2 separate regions of the Homo sapiens genome follow, and region 1 is linked to region 2. The links are contacts of gene promoters, found by promoter capture Hi-C in blood cells and fetal thymus (Javierre and others, 2016). All regions are on one chromosome and are shown on one strand. Each heading gives the region's core, a stretch centred on a gene start or on the middle of the fragment in contact. The rest is flanking DNA. Distances are from core to core; before and after follow the strand shown.

Region 1 (6,575 bases), core at 4,005-6,504, 38 kb after region 2:
CAAAAAATTAGCTGGGCGTGGTGGCGGGCACCTGTAATCCCAGCTACTCAGGAGGCTGAGCCAGGAGAATGGCGTGAACCTGGGAGGCGGAGCTTGCAGTGAGTCGAGATCGCGCCACTGCACTCCAGCCTGGGTGACAGAGCGAGACTCCGTCTCAAAAAAAAAAAAAAAAAAAAAAAAAGTCAGAACAGATATGGTTGTAATTCTCTAAATCTAACTTTTCAATCACAATTTGTTAGAATGTGTTTCAAAGTTTCAAATTCTGCCTCGTTTCTTCAAGAGTAGATGGATGTTCCACTCATCTATGAGGACCTTCTAGGTTTGGTGGGAGACGGGAGCCCTGCTTTTGCCCCGATGTGCCCGGTGGATATGGTCTTCTTTCCTCTAGACTGGGCTCTTGGTACTTGCCACTGGGTCTGTCTTCCTGTTTCCTGCCTCATTCCCTGTTCAGGGCAGACCAATTTCCAGAGTCTCTTCAATTCCAGTCTCTCCCACGCTGCTGTATGAGCTGGCGTTTGACAGGAACCAATATATAACAATTTCAACCACAGTACTAGGAATATGGGACAACCTGCAGGACTGAATACCTTCTTAGTCTGCTTAGGCTGCTATAACAACATATAATAATCTGGGTAGCTTATAAACTACAGATATTTATTTTTCAAAGCTCCAGAGGCTGTGAAGTCCAAGATCAAGGTGCTGGCAGATTCAGTGTCTGGTGAGGCCCTGATTCATAGATGGCACCTTATAGCTGTGTCCTCACATGGTGGAACAGATGTGCTAACTCTCTGAGATCTCTTTTATAAGAGATCCAGGCTAGGCGCGGTGGCTCACGCCTGTAATCTCAGCACTTTGGGAGACTGAGGCAGGCAGATTTGCTTGAGCTCAGGAGCTTGAGACCAGCCTGGGCAACATGGCAAAACCCTGTCTCGACAAAAAATACAAAAATTAGCTGGGTGTGGTGTGTGTACCTGTAGACCCAGCTACTCAAGAGGCTGAAGCAGGAGGATTGCTTGAGCCCAGGAGGCGGAAGTTGCAGTGAGCTGAGATCACGCCAGTGTGCTCCAGCCTGCTGGGTGGCAGTGTGAGACCCTGTCTGAAAATAAAAATAAAAATAAAAGATCTAATCCTATTCATGAGGGTTCTACTCTCATGATCTACTCACCTCCCAAATGCTCTACTTCCTAATAGCATCATATTGGTGATTCAATTTCAACACGGAAACTGGGAGAGCAGGGAGCAACACAAACATTCAGACCATAGCAGCTCTTGTAGGAATAACTTTAGATTCAAATGACTGGTGATTTGAAACATTTGTCCCATTCTCCCAAAAAAAAAAGACCCTTAGACAAGGACTTGGGTACAGGTCATTTATTTGGAAGGAGATCCCAGGAAGCCCAGTGAGAGGGAAGGGAGGAGACTCACAAAAGGGTAGATTAATAAATAAGTCCCCACTTAGGACAGCCCTAGCTCAATGGGGCCCCTCTGAGAGAATGGGTAGAAGAAGCCTCAGAAACATCACACCAAAAGACTGGAAAGCTGTGGTATTTACATGCAGTTATAAACTGAATGTCTATGTATCCCCCAACTAAATGTATATATTAGGAACCTAAACCCCAGTGAGGATGTATTAATATTTAGAGATTAGACCTTTTGTAATTACAGTTGGCCCTTGAACAACACTGGTTTGAATTACTTGGGTCCCGTTATATGTGGAATGTTTCCAATAAAAATTAACACCATGTGTGCCTCTCCTGCTTCCCCTTCTACCTCCTTCACCTCCGCAACCCCTGAGACAGCAAGACCAATCCCTCCTCTTCCTCCTCCACCTCCTCAGCCTACTCAACACTCAGACAAGAATGAAGACCTTTATGATGATCTGCTTCCACTTAATGAATAGTAAATATACTTTCTCTTCTTTATGGTTTTCTTTATCTAGCTTACTTTATTGTAAGAATACAGTATATAATACATATAACACACACCAACTGTTTATGTTATCTGTAAGGCCATCTATAAGGCTTCTGGTCAACAAACAATGGTCTATTAGTAGTTAGTTTTATTTTTCCATGTCCTAATTCCTTGAGGTAGTTAAGTTTTTGAGGAATCAAAAGTTATATGTGAGTTTTCAACTGTGTGAGGGGTTGATGTCCCTAGCCCCTGTGTTGTTCAAGGGTCAAGCATAAGGTTATCTGAGATCATAAGGGTGGGGCCCTGATCTGATAGGATTAGTGCCCTTATGAGAAAAGACACTGGACAGCTTGCTCTCTCTTCCCATGTGCATGCACTAAGGCCTTCTCACTAAGACCTCCTCACATGGCCTTTCCTGCAAGCCAGGAAGAAAGCCTTCATCAGAAACCAGATCAGCCAGAATCTTGATCTTGGACTTCTAGAATCAAGAACTGTGAGCAAATAAAATTGTGTTGTTTAAGCCACATAGTGTTTAGTATTTTGTTATGGCAGCCTGAGTAGACTAAGACATGCGTCATCTTTCATTATCACTGGTTGAAGATTTCCCTTGAGGGTGCTGCAGGTGGCTTGAGGTGGGGAGCCTTGTCAGCACATACAGAACCTTCCTCCCTGGCTGCAGGTGAACTGGGAGTGGAGCCAATGGCACATGGAAAGGCCACACTGAGTGTGCTGTCCCATTGTTTCTAATCTTCGACTTACAGATGCTGCCACATTGACTATTCTATCCATGTGCTTGTTTTGCACACGTTGCGCTATAAATTAGGGATAAAGTTGCTCCATCAAACGGTATGGATGCCCAAATTGTTCTCCTAAAGAGATTATGTCCATTTACATTCCACCAACAATATCTGTTTTTCCACGCCCTTTCTGATACAGTTTATCAGTCATTTTGATCTTGCCAGCCTCTTAGGTAGAACAGTGTGTCATTGTGGTTTTCACAGGTAAATGTCTTCTAACTCAGTGTAACAGAGTGTGAGGCAAAGGAGGGGGAAGAAAGCTTCCCTGCTTCTTTGGCAACCTCAGCTCATACATGAATTCTTCACTGAGGACACGGATACACCAGCAACCTCAAAGGTTATAGTGTCTTTGTCCTGGTTAGGGCAGGAAGCAACTCCCCTTCAGTATATTGTCTGACTTCCCTGGTAACCATGGTAACAATGTCAGTGTCAACAAAGTCAGCAGAAGTAGCTTCACAAGCATCAAAGAACTTAGAACAGACTAAAGCCCAGGAAACTACAGTGGGAGTGGGGGCAGGGGTGGTGTAAGGGTACATACTGCATGGTAGTAGCTATGTTTGTGAGCTCACCTAAGTTACTCCTGTTCATTTCCAGAAGAGGTAGATTCAGAGACAGAGAAAAGCCACATGTGCTGTTATAGAGTTCCTGTAATTTTATCTCCGAATTCGTTCTACAGCTATTTTACTAAGCTTCATCATAGACATATATTGCTGTACAAGGGAGAAGGACTCTAATATTCAAGCAGTTGAAAAACATTATTTGCTGTCAACTCCACTATTCCTATAGATGAACTAGAAATGGGATGACTGTGTAGAGCACTCAAGGTCAAAAGGAAGGTTGCAGGGAATTTATGGGAAAATCTGGGAAACACAGATCTAAGGACATGTAGGCAAAGGGCTGTAAATGGATAGGACTGTATAGTGAGAGTTCTGGCCAGGCACAGTGGCTCACACCTGTAATCTCAGTACCTTGGGAGGCTGAGGTGGGAGGATCTCTTGCGGCCAAAGAACTCGAGACCAGCCTGGGCAATATAGTAAGACCCATCTATACAAAAAATAAAAAAGTTAGCTGGGCATGTGGTATGTGCCTGTAGTTCCAGCTACTCAGGAGCTGAGGTGGGAAGATGACTTGAGGCTGGGAAGTTGAGGCTGCAGGGAGCCATAATCACATCACTGCACTCCAACCTCGGGGCAGAGCAAGACCCTGCCTCAAAAAAAAAAAAAAAAAAAAAAAAAAAAAAAAAAAAAGAAAAAGAAAAAGAAAAAAAGAAAGAAAAAGAAATTTCCCGGGTAAAAGTTTAAATGCCTATTCTTTCATTTTTAAAAAACATTTTACTTTTTCTTTTGAGTCTCACTCTGTCACCCAGACTGGAGTGCAGTGGCCTGATCGTGTCTCACTGCAACCTCTGCCTCCTAGGTTCAAATGATTCTTGTGCCTCAGCCTCCCAAGTGGCTGGTATTACAGGTGTGTGCCACCACTCCCGGCTAATTTTGTTGTTGTTGTTGTCATTTCTTGTAGAGATGAGGTTTTGCTATATTGTCCAGGCTGGTGTCAAATTACTGGACTCAAGTGATCCATTCACCTTGGCCTCCCAAAGTGCTGGGATTACAGGCATGAGCCACTGCACCCAGCTGATTGTGTGGTTTAAAAACATAAATTATTTTATCAGACAATAATTCTGAGGGAGACTCCATTCTAGAGGCTGGAAAGTCCAAGATCAAGGTTCTGCTAGGGTTTCTAATGAGGCTGCAAATAGCCACCTTCTCTCTGCATGGCAGAGAGAGAGAAAGTGAGCTTTCTGGTGTCTCTGCTTTAAGTGCATGAATCCTATCAGAACAGGTACCCACCCTTATAACTGAAGTTAATCTTAATTACCTCCTTATATAGGACCTGTCTCCAAACACAGTCATATTGTGGGTTAGGGCTTCAACATATGAATATAGGGGTGCACAATTCAGTCCATAGCAGATGGAATAAACATATTTGATACAACTGAAAGGATAATTCATAAAGTAGAAGATAGGTCAGAAGAAACTATCCAGGATATAGCGCGGAAAGACAAAAAGACATAAAGCACACAAGACTTGAGAGGAGATCTAGAGGATAATGGAAGAAGGTCTAGTATATATTTAACCCGAGTCTTAGAAGAAGAAAAGACAAAGAATGAGGCAGAAGCAACATTTGAAAAAATATATACCTAAGAATTCTTGGAACTAATGAAGGACATCAACCCACAGATTCATGAAGCCTAACAAATCCCAAAGAGTATAAATTTTTTTAAATTAACGCCTAGATATGTTATGAAGACACTTCAGAAACCAAAGAGAACAATTTTAAAGTATTCACAGGAAAAAGAGATTCCTTTCAAAAGACTTATTTACAGGAGCTAGAAGAGAATGGAATTATATCTTCAGTTGGCTGAAAGAAAATAACTGCCAATGTAGAATCCTACTGACGACAAAAGTATCCTTCCAGAACAAAGGCAATTACAAGTACAAGTTGGGGGTAAAAGGCAACATAAAAACATTTTAGACAAACTGAACAAGAAGACTTCAACCACCAGCAAACATGCATTAAAGGAAAATCTAACAGGCATTATTTCGGGAGAATGAAAATGATCCAAAATGAAAATCAGAGGTGCAAGAAGGAATAAAGAGCAAATAATTGCTATATATGTGAGTAATTTTAAATAAGCATTCAGTATACAAAACAAAAATAGGCGGGGTGCAGTGGCTCATGCCTGTAATCCCAGAACTTTCGGATGCCAAGGCAGAAGGATCACTTGAGGTCAGGAGTTCAAGACCAGATTGGCCAACATGGTGAAACTCCGTCTTTACTAAAAATACAAAAATTAGCTGGGCATGGTGGCACGTACCTATAATTCCAGCTATCTGGGAGTCTGAGGCACAAGAATTGCTGGAACCCGGGAGGCAGAGGTTGCAATGAGCCCAGAACGCACTGTTGCACTCCAGCCTGGGCAAGAGAGTGAAACTCCATCTCAAACAAACAAAAACAAAATAATAATGTCACATGGAATCTTAACAGAATTAAAATATAAAGGGAGACAATTGTTTCAATGTCATGATGAAGATTAGAGGTTAGAGGATTTCAGATTTACAACAACAAAGTTATTTTATGCATGCATGTATGTATGTATATATGTATGTATGTATTTTTTGAGATGGAGTCTCACTCTGTCGCCCAGGCTGGAGTGTAGTGGCGTGATCTTAGCTTACTGCAACCTCTGCCTCTCAGGTTCAAGTGATTCTCCTGCCTCAGCCTACCAAGTAGCTGGGATTACAGGTGCGTGCCACCATGCCCAGCTAATTTTTGTATTTTTAGTAGAGACAGGGTTTCACCATGTTGGCCAGGATGGTCTCGATCTCCTGACCTCGTGATCCACCCACCTCGGACTCCCAAAGTGCTGGGATTACAGGTGTGAGCCACTGTGCGCGGCCATGTAATTTTTTATTTTTTTTTTGAGATGGAGTCTTGCTCTGTCGCCCAGGCTGGAGTGCCATGGCACGATCTCGGCTCACTGCAAGCTCCGCCTCCTGGGTTCATGCCATGCAATTTTTTAGAGATGAGGTCTTAGTAGGTATGTTGCCCAGCCTGGTCTTGAACTCCTGGGCTCAAACCATCCTCCTGCCTTGGCCTCCCAAATTGCTGGGATTACAGGTGTAAGCCACCACGCCCGGCATTCTTCTTCTTTTCTAAGAGTAGAAGTGTTTTTGTAGCTGTAAGGGTAGAATACCTAAAAATCAAGGAGAAAATTCAATGTTTGATTACATTAAGCATATTTCTAGAAGTATGGGACATGTCTTTAACTTGTTTCAACTTTTAATATCCATTATGAGTAAATTAGGG
Region 2 (7,182 bases), core at 2,874-5,373:
TTTGGCTTTTTTCATCAACAATGGGAAAGGAGGTCAGACATACCTTGTTATAACCACCTCTTTTTGGAGTTTAGGCACAAATGACCAGCATTAATGTTAAAAATAGAGATCATGGCCAGGTGCAGGGGCTGACACCTGTAGTCCCAGCACTTTGGGAGGCTGAGGCAGGAAGATCACTTAAGCCCAGGAGTTCAAGACCAGCCTGCGCAACATGGTGAAAACCCGACTCTACAAAAAATACAAAAACTAGCCAGGCATGGTGGTGCCTGCCTGTAGTCCTAGCTACTCAGAAGGCTGAGATGGGAGGATTGCTTGAGCCCAGGAGGTTGAGGCTGCAGTGAGCTGAGATGACACCACTGCATTCCAGCCTGGGTGACAGAGCAAGACCCTGTCTCAAGAAAAAAAAATAGATCATATGACTGACAAAACAGACTCTGTGGCAATAAGATACCAAATTATGGCTAGGTGTGGTGGCTCATGCCTGTAATCCCAGCACTTCTGAAGCGGCGTCGTTTGTCTGCGGTAATACCCAAGGTTCACTGTCTCATGACAAGGAAATCAAAGACGCTAACACACAAGGAGTGTGTTTAAGAGAGGAAAGTCTAATAGGCAAAAGAGAAAAGCTCTCCCATGCAGAGGGAGGGGGGTTCCGAACGGATCTCCCCCATTTGGGGCAAGATGAGGTTGGTTTTATAGATGAGCTTGAGGAGCCAGTGTCTGATTTACATAGGGCACAGAGAGAGGGTTGGTTGGACCAGGTGTGCCTTTAACAAAGCATGCTAAGAGGCTGGCCATCCCACCCTAATCTTTTATTATACAAATAGAGATTTAACCTGGCCAGTGCCATGTTGCTTGTACACGTGGCGACAAAGTAAAGGGAAGAGGAAACCTCTATGTTGAATATACCTGGCTTCCAGAAATCCCTTTTCTAGTGGCACAGCTGCCGGCATTTACCTATGCAAGCTTCCAGCTTGCTTATCTACGCTTGCAGCTTGATTTTTCAGGCTGTTTTTTGTTAGAAATGATTTGGGGCTGCTTTTTATTAAAAGGAAAACTTTACCAAGGACTCCCTAACCCTCGCTAACTGCCTAATTAATTTCTTTTTAGCTTCTGTATCACTTTGGAAGGCCGAGGTGGGAGGATCCTTTGAGACCAGGAGTTCGACTCCAGCCTGGGCCACACGGCAAGACCCTGTCTCTATGTTTTATATTTATATATATTGTTAAAAAAGATACCAAATTATAAACAAGACCTAGGCCATGCAAGACATAGGTTAGGATACATCCTACAGACCATAAAATCTTGTTAAATGGGATTTTCTTTTTTTATTAACCTGGTATAATGTGGCTTATCTTCCAACCTGACACTGGTATAGCATCACATGACAGATAGCAAACCCTGAATGAAATAAAAATATTTTATGTCGGCCAGGTGCGGTGGCTCATGCCTGTAATCCCAGCACTTTGGGAGGCAGAGGCGGGTGGATCACTTGAGGTCAGGAGTTTGAGACCAGCCTGACCAACATGGTGAAACCCCCCCATCTCTACTGAAAATACAAAAAATTAGCTAGGCATGGCAATGCGTGCCTGTAATCCCAGCTACGCCGTAGGCTGAGGCAGGAGAATCGCTTGAACCCAGGAGGTGGAGGTTGCAGTGAGCTGAGACTGCGCCACTGCACTACAGCCTAGGTGACAGGGCAAGACTCCATCTCAAAAACAAACAAACAAACAAAATACAAAAATTAGTCAGGTGTGGTGGTGCACACCTGTAATCCCAGCTGCTCCAGAAGCTGAGACGGAGAACTGCTTGAACCTGGGAAGCAGAGGTTGCAGTGAGCCGAGATCGCACTACTGCACTCCAGTTTGGGTGACAGAACAAAGACTCTGCCTCAAAAAAAAAAAAAAAAAACCCCAAAATATATTTCTTTGACATATTTTAAAATGGCCCTACAAAGCTACAAAGCTGTCTTTTGTAACAGAAATTTGCATCTGTAGAGAATCTCCATTAATGCAGCCAGGATTTCCTTTTCTAGGCCTTTCCCAGATCCAGGAAAGATTAATTCTGACACCTAAATTTCCAAAAAGAGACATTTACCATCTATTCTCTCTTTTTTGTTTTTTTTTTTTTTGAGATGGAGTCTCACTCTGTCATCCAGGCTAGAGTGCAGTAGTGCGATCTCAGCTCACTGCAACCTTTGTCTCCTGGGTTCAAGCAATTCTTGTGTCTCAGCCTTCCAAGTAGCTGGGATTACAGGCGCACGCCACCGTGCCTGGCTAATTTTTTTATTTTTCGTAGAGATGGTGTTTCATCATGTTGGCCAGGCTGGTCTTGAACTCCTGACCTCAAGTGATCTGCCTGCCACGGCCTCACAAAGCGTTGAGATTACAGGTGTGAGCCATGGAGCCCAGCCCATCTCTAGTCATGGCACCTAGCCCATCTATTCTCTGAGGCTGCTACTCACACTTCATCTACGTAACAAGGACCTTGAACCACACAACTCCCTTATCTTAGTTCAAGCATTCTTTTCTACTGACTTCAAGTCTTTAGACAAAGCTTAACTCTCTCAAGCAACTGTCAGCTAAAGAATCCCTAAAATCCACCTAAGACTTCTAAGACCACCCTTGGACATATCCACCTTTTTGGGTCTAACCAATGTATACCTTCCATGTATTGATTTATGTCTTTGCCTGTTAACTCCTGTCTCCCTAAAATGTAAAAAAAACAAACTATAACCCAACTGCCTCGGGATCACTTACTAAAGACTTTTTGGGTTTGTGTTTTCTCTCTGGGCGATGGTCAATCATACTGGCTCAGAATAAACCGCTTTAAAATAGTTTACAGAGTTTTATTTATTTGCTAACAGTCTGACACATGATACAAAGACAAGCTTTGAAAATATTATACATAGTATAAGAAGATAGCCGGGCGTGGTGGCTCACACCTGTAATCTCAGCACTTTGAGAGGCTGAGGCAGGTTGATCAAGAGCTGAGGAGTTCAAGACCAGCCTGGCCAAGATGGTGAAACCTCGTCTCTACTAAAAATACAAAAATTAGTCGAACGTGGTGGCAGGCGCCTGTAGTCCCAGCTACTCGGGAGGCTCAGGCAGGAGACTAGCTTGAACCTGGGCAGCAGAGGTTGCAGTGAGCCAAGATCGTGCCACTATACTCCAGCCTGGGCTACAGAGTGAGAGTCATGAGACTCCGTTTAAAAAAAGAACAAAAGTCATGAAAGAAGCTAGTCACAAAAACATTGACATTATACTTAATGAAAGAAGCCAGCTGCACTGTATGATTTCATTTATATCAAACGTGCGAATTGGCAAGGCTATACAGACAGAAAGTATACTAGCAATTGTCTAGGACTTGAGGCGGAGTGGACGTGGTGAATGTAGAATGACTGCTACTGGAGGCAGGATTTTTCTTTGGAGTGATGAAAGTATTCTAAAATGAGATCACAGTAATAGATGCACAATTCTGTCAACAACAACAAAAAAACCCTTAATGTTACCCTTTATTATTTATTTTTGGGTACGTTGTCTTGCTCTGTCTTCCAGGCTGGAGTGCAGTGGCGCGATCTGGGCTCACTGCAGCCTGGAACTCCGGGGCACAAGCGATTCTCCCACCTCAGTCTCCTGAGCAGCTGGAACTACAGGCGAATGCCACTATGCTAGGCTTGATTTTTTTTTACGCTTTAAATGGGCAAATTTTACTTAGTAGGTGAATAGAAATTTCCCAAGAAAGCTGTTTTTTTGTTTGTTGGTTTTTTAGCAGAACCTCCTGAAGTGGCAGGTCACTGAAAAAATTTAAAAAAAAACAACAAAACCGAAGCTTATCCATACTCACTATCCACAAATTCCCAAAATTCCCCAAAGCACAGGCTGCAGACACCGTGTGTTGGGGCGGAAGGGGCGGGGAGCTAGCAGGAAATCCTGACATGCCTAGGAAAGCCTCCATAACTTCCTAATTGAGAGAGAACGATCAGATGCATTGCTGTGACCCCCGCCCCCACCACTCCAACCCCCCCCCATCCCATCCCGCGCTTACCTCTCCTCCAAAGCACTCCAGAAAACTGAGGAGAAAAGCCGCCAAGCCCCCCGACACACTCACCATCCGCAACCGGAACGCGGAAGCAATGGCGCCATCTTTTTTATGGGAAATGTGAGGTTCGAAGGAAGTCACCGGAGCCATCCTTACTGCGGGCAGTGAAGGGCAATGGAAGCCGGTCGCGGCCATGTTGACTGAGGCTTTTGGCCTGTCAATGAGGCTTGCCACATGTGGCTATTTTGGGCAATTTCCTGAGGAGGCTTGTCGATAAATGTGCTTGGTAAACCCTAAGGGAACAGAAAAAATATTCAAAAATTTAAATGTTGGCCGGGAGCGGTGGCTTACGCCTGTAGTCCCAGCACTTTGGGAGGCTGAGACGGATCACTTGAGGCCAGGAGTTTGAGACCAGCCTGGGCAACATAGGGAGACACTGTCTCTACAAAAAAAATTTTTTTTTAATTAGCGAGGCATGGTGGCACATGTCTGTAGGCCCAGGTAGTTGGGGGGCTGAGGTGGGAGAATTGCTTGAGCCTGAGAGGTCAAGGCTGCAGTTGGCCATGTTCTTGCCACTGCAGTCCAGCCTGGGCAACAGAGCTAGACCTTGCCTTTTAAAAAAAAAAATTCGTCTGGGCTCAGTGGCTCACGCCTGTAATCCCAGCACTTTGGTAGGCCGAGGCAGGAGGATCACCTGAGGTCGGGAGTTCGAGACCAGCCTTACCAACAGAGAAACCCTGTCTCTACTAAAAATACAAAATTAGCTGGGTGTGGTGGTGCAGCCTGTAATCGCAGCTACCCGGGAGACTAAGGCAGGAGAATCGCTTGAACCCAGAAGGTGGAGGTTGTGGTGAGCCAAGATCGTGCCATTGCACTCCAGCCTGGGCAACGAGAGCGAAACTCCGTCTCAAAAAAAAAAATAAATAAAATTCAATGTCTTGGAGAGGGTGGGGTGGCATGCCCCTGTAATCCCACTGCTTTGGGAGGCCAAGATGGGAGGATTACTTGAGGCAAGGAGTTCAAGACCCACCTGGGCAACACAGTGGAGACCTTGTCTCTACAAAATGGTTTTGTTTTTTTTTTTTTGAGACGGAGTCTCGCTCTGTTGCCCAGGCTGGAGTGCGGTGGCGCCATCTCGGCTCACTGCAAGCTCCGCCTCCCGGGTTCACGCCATTCTCCTGCCTCAGCCTCCCAAGTAGCTGGGACTACAGGCGCCCGCTACCACGCCCGGCTAATTTTTTGTATTTTTAGTAGAGACGGGGTTTCACCGTGTTAGCCAGGATGGTCTCGATCTCCTGGCCTCGTGATCCGCCTGCCTGGGCCTCCCAAAGTGCTGGGATTACAGGCGTGAGCCACCGTGCCCGGCCTACAAAATGGTTTTAATAAATAAATAAATAAACTTGAATGTCTACATTTTAAAAATATGAAAAGTAGAAATTAAAGATGAGGATGAAAATATTGTAATATTCTGATGCATGCAGATAACTACATAACTGCCACAACTGCAGGACCACAAAAAAGAGACTGTCTAAAGACAAAATTACAAAATTAAGATTTAGCTTAAAGATCTAATTGGCTTTTGTTTACAATTCTAGAATCAGGCAGCATCTCATTCTATAAGATTGAATGTTCCAATGAGCTGAGCAGACAAGGTTAGCTTCATAGGCAGAAAAGGGGCTAAAGAATGCAGAAAGAGATTTGAACAAAAAGCAAATTGATCGTCCTTTTTTTTTTCTTTTTTTTTTTGAGACAGTCTTACTCTGTCGTCCAGGCTGGAGTGTCCTGGTGCGATCTCAACTTCCATCTCCTGAGTTAAAGTGATTCTTGTGTGTCAGCCTCCCTAGTACCTGGATCACAGGCGTGCACCACCATGCCCGGCTAATTTTTGTATTTCTAGTAGAGACAGGGTTTTGCCATGTTGGCCAGACTAGTCTTGAACTCCTGATCTCAAGTGATTTTCCCGCCTGGGCCTCCCAAAGTGCTGTGATTACAGCCATGAGCCACCGCACCCGGCCCTGCAAATTGATCATTTCAAAGTTACTTTCCTTGTAGGGTTAAAACAGAGAAGACTTCCTTATTATATTTACTCAGATTGACTGGAATCTCCCGTTTTCTGGAAGATGGGCTTGTTTCAAAGTTCAGTTTGATTACATGGCACTTAGCACAAGTAACTCAGTTCTGATTTGGCCTGGCCTGCTGGGGCCTAGTGGAGGAGGTCAGACCAAATCAATTGCCTCTTATAAAATTTAACAAAACTGAGGGCTCTTTTCCCCTTTCACCATTTTCTTGAAAGAGTAGTGTATACTCATAGCCTCCTATCGATGCCTAAATTGGAATAATAACCCATAAATTAGGAGTCCTGGACTTAAGATAAATATTTTACCTATACACTATTTTCTTTTCCTTTTATTTATTTATTTATTTATTTATTTTTTGGAGATGGAGTCTCACTGTGTCGCCCAGGCTGGAGTGCAGTGGCGCGATCTTGGCTCACTGCAACCTCTGCCTCCCGGGTTCAAGCAATTCTCCTGCCTCAGCCTCCTGAGCAGCTGGGATTACAGGCATGTGCCACCATGCCCAGCTAATTTTTTTATTTTTAGTAGAGATGGGTTTTCACCATGTTGGTCAGGCTGGTCTCGAACTCCAGACCTCAGATGATCCGCCACCTTGGCCTCCCAAAGTGCTGGGATTACAGGTGTGAGCCACCATGCCCGGACTTTCTTTTCCTTAAATACTCCATGCTTGCCTTCTCTCAATTCTGAGCTCTTCCCCCATGCAATTTCTTCCCTTACGAACACTCTTCTCTCTTCTTTGATGTTTATCTTCCTTACAATCTCAGCTTTAACCAATTTTTCCTCCAGGAACCTTCTCTGACTTATCTGAAAAGAGTTAGTGGTCCCTTGCAAGAATAGCTCACTTTCCTCTGTTTACCCAGATTGCTCTAAACTCCTTTGTCCTTTCTGCTTTTCCCACCAAACTGTAAGTATCTCAAAGGCAAAGACCACGTTTATCTTTTTCTCTGCTTGTATTTCAGAGCCCAGCTCAGTGACTCACATATAAGTGAAATCATTGTTATATGCACGAATAAATAAGTCTTTTCCCAGGTCTCACCTGTTCCCCACTCCTCATTCACAACCCACTCAA

The links. Contacts are between HindIII fragments. The CHiCAGO score rates a contact against its expected background, and 5 or more counts as called.
Region 1: a contact is called between a fragment that was not itself captured here and the fragment with the promoter of SHLD1 in region 2, in 6 of 17 cell types (naive CD8 T cells, non-activated CD4 T cells, total CD4 T cells and 3 more). The highest score is 8.3, in naive CD8 T cells.

The regions. Positions count from the first base shown.
Region 1 is chr20:5,711,289-5,717,863 of GRCh38, reverse strand. No RefSeq gene overlaps it. Among named protein-coding and RNA genes, the nearest start is that of SHLD1, 36 kb to the left of the region's middle. RefSeq lists a silencer at 2,987-3,281. The HindIII fragment of the contact is 3,710 bases long and covers 3,400-6,575 here.
Region 2 is chr20:5,747,342-5,754,523 of GRCh38, reverse strand. SHLD1 (shieldin complex subunit 1) reads right to left here and starts at 4,123. Exons shown (of 3, transcript NM_152504.4): 1 at 4,045-4,123. RefSeq lists an enhancer at 4,248-4,297. The HindIII fragment of the contact is 6,647 bases long and covers 3,831-7,182 here.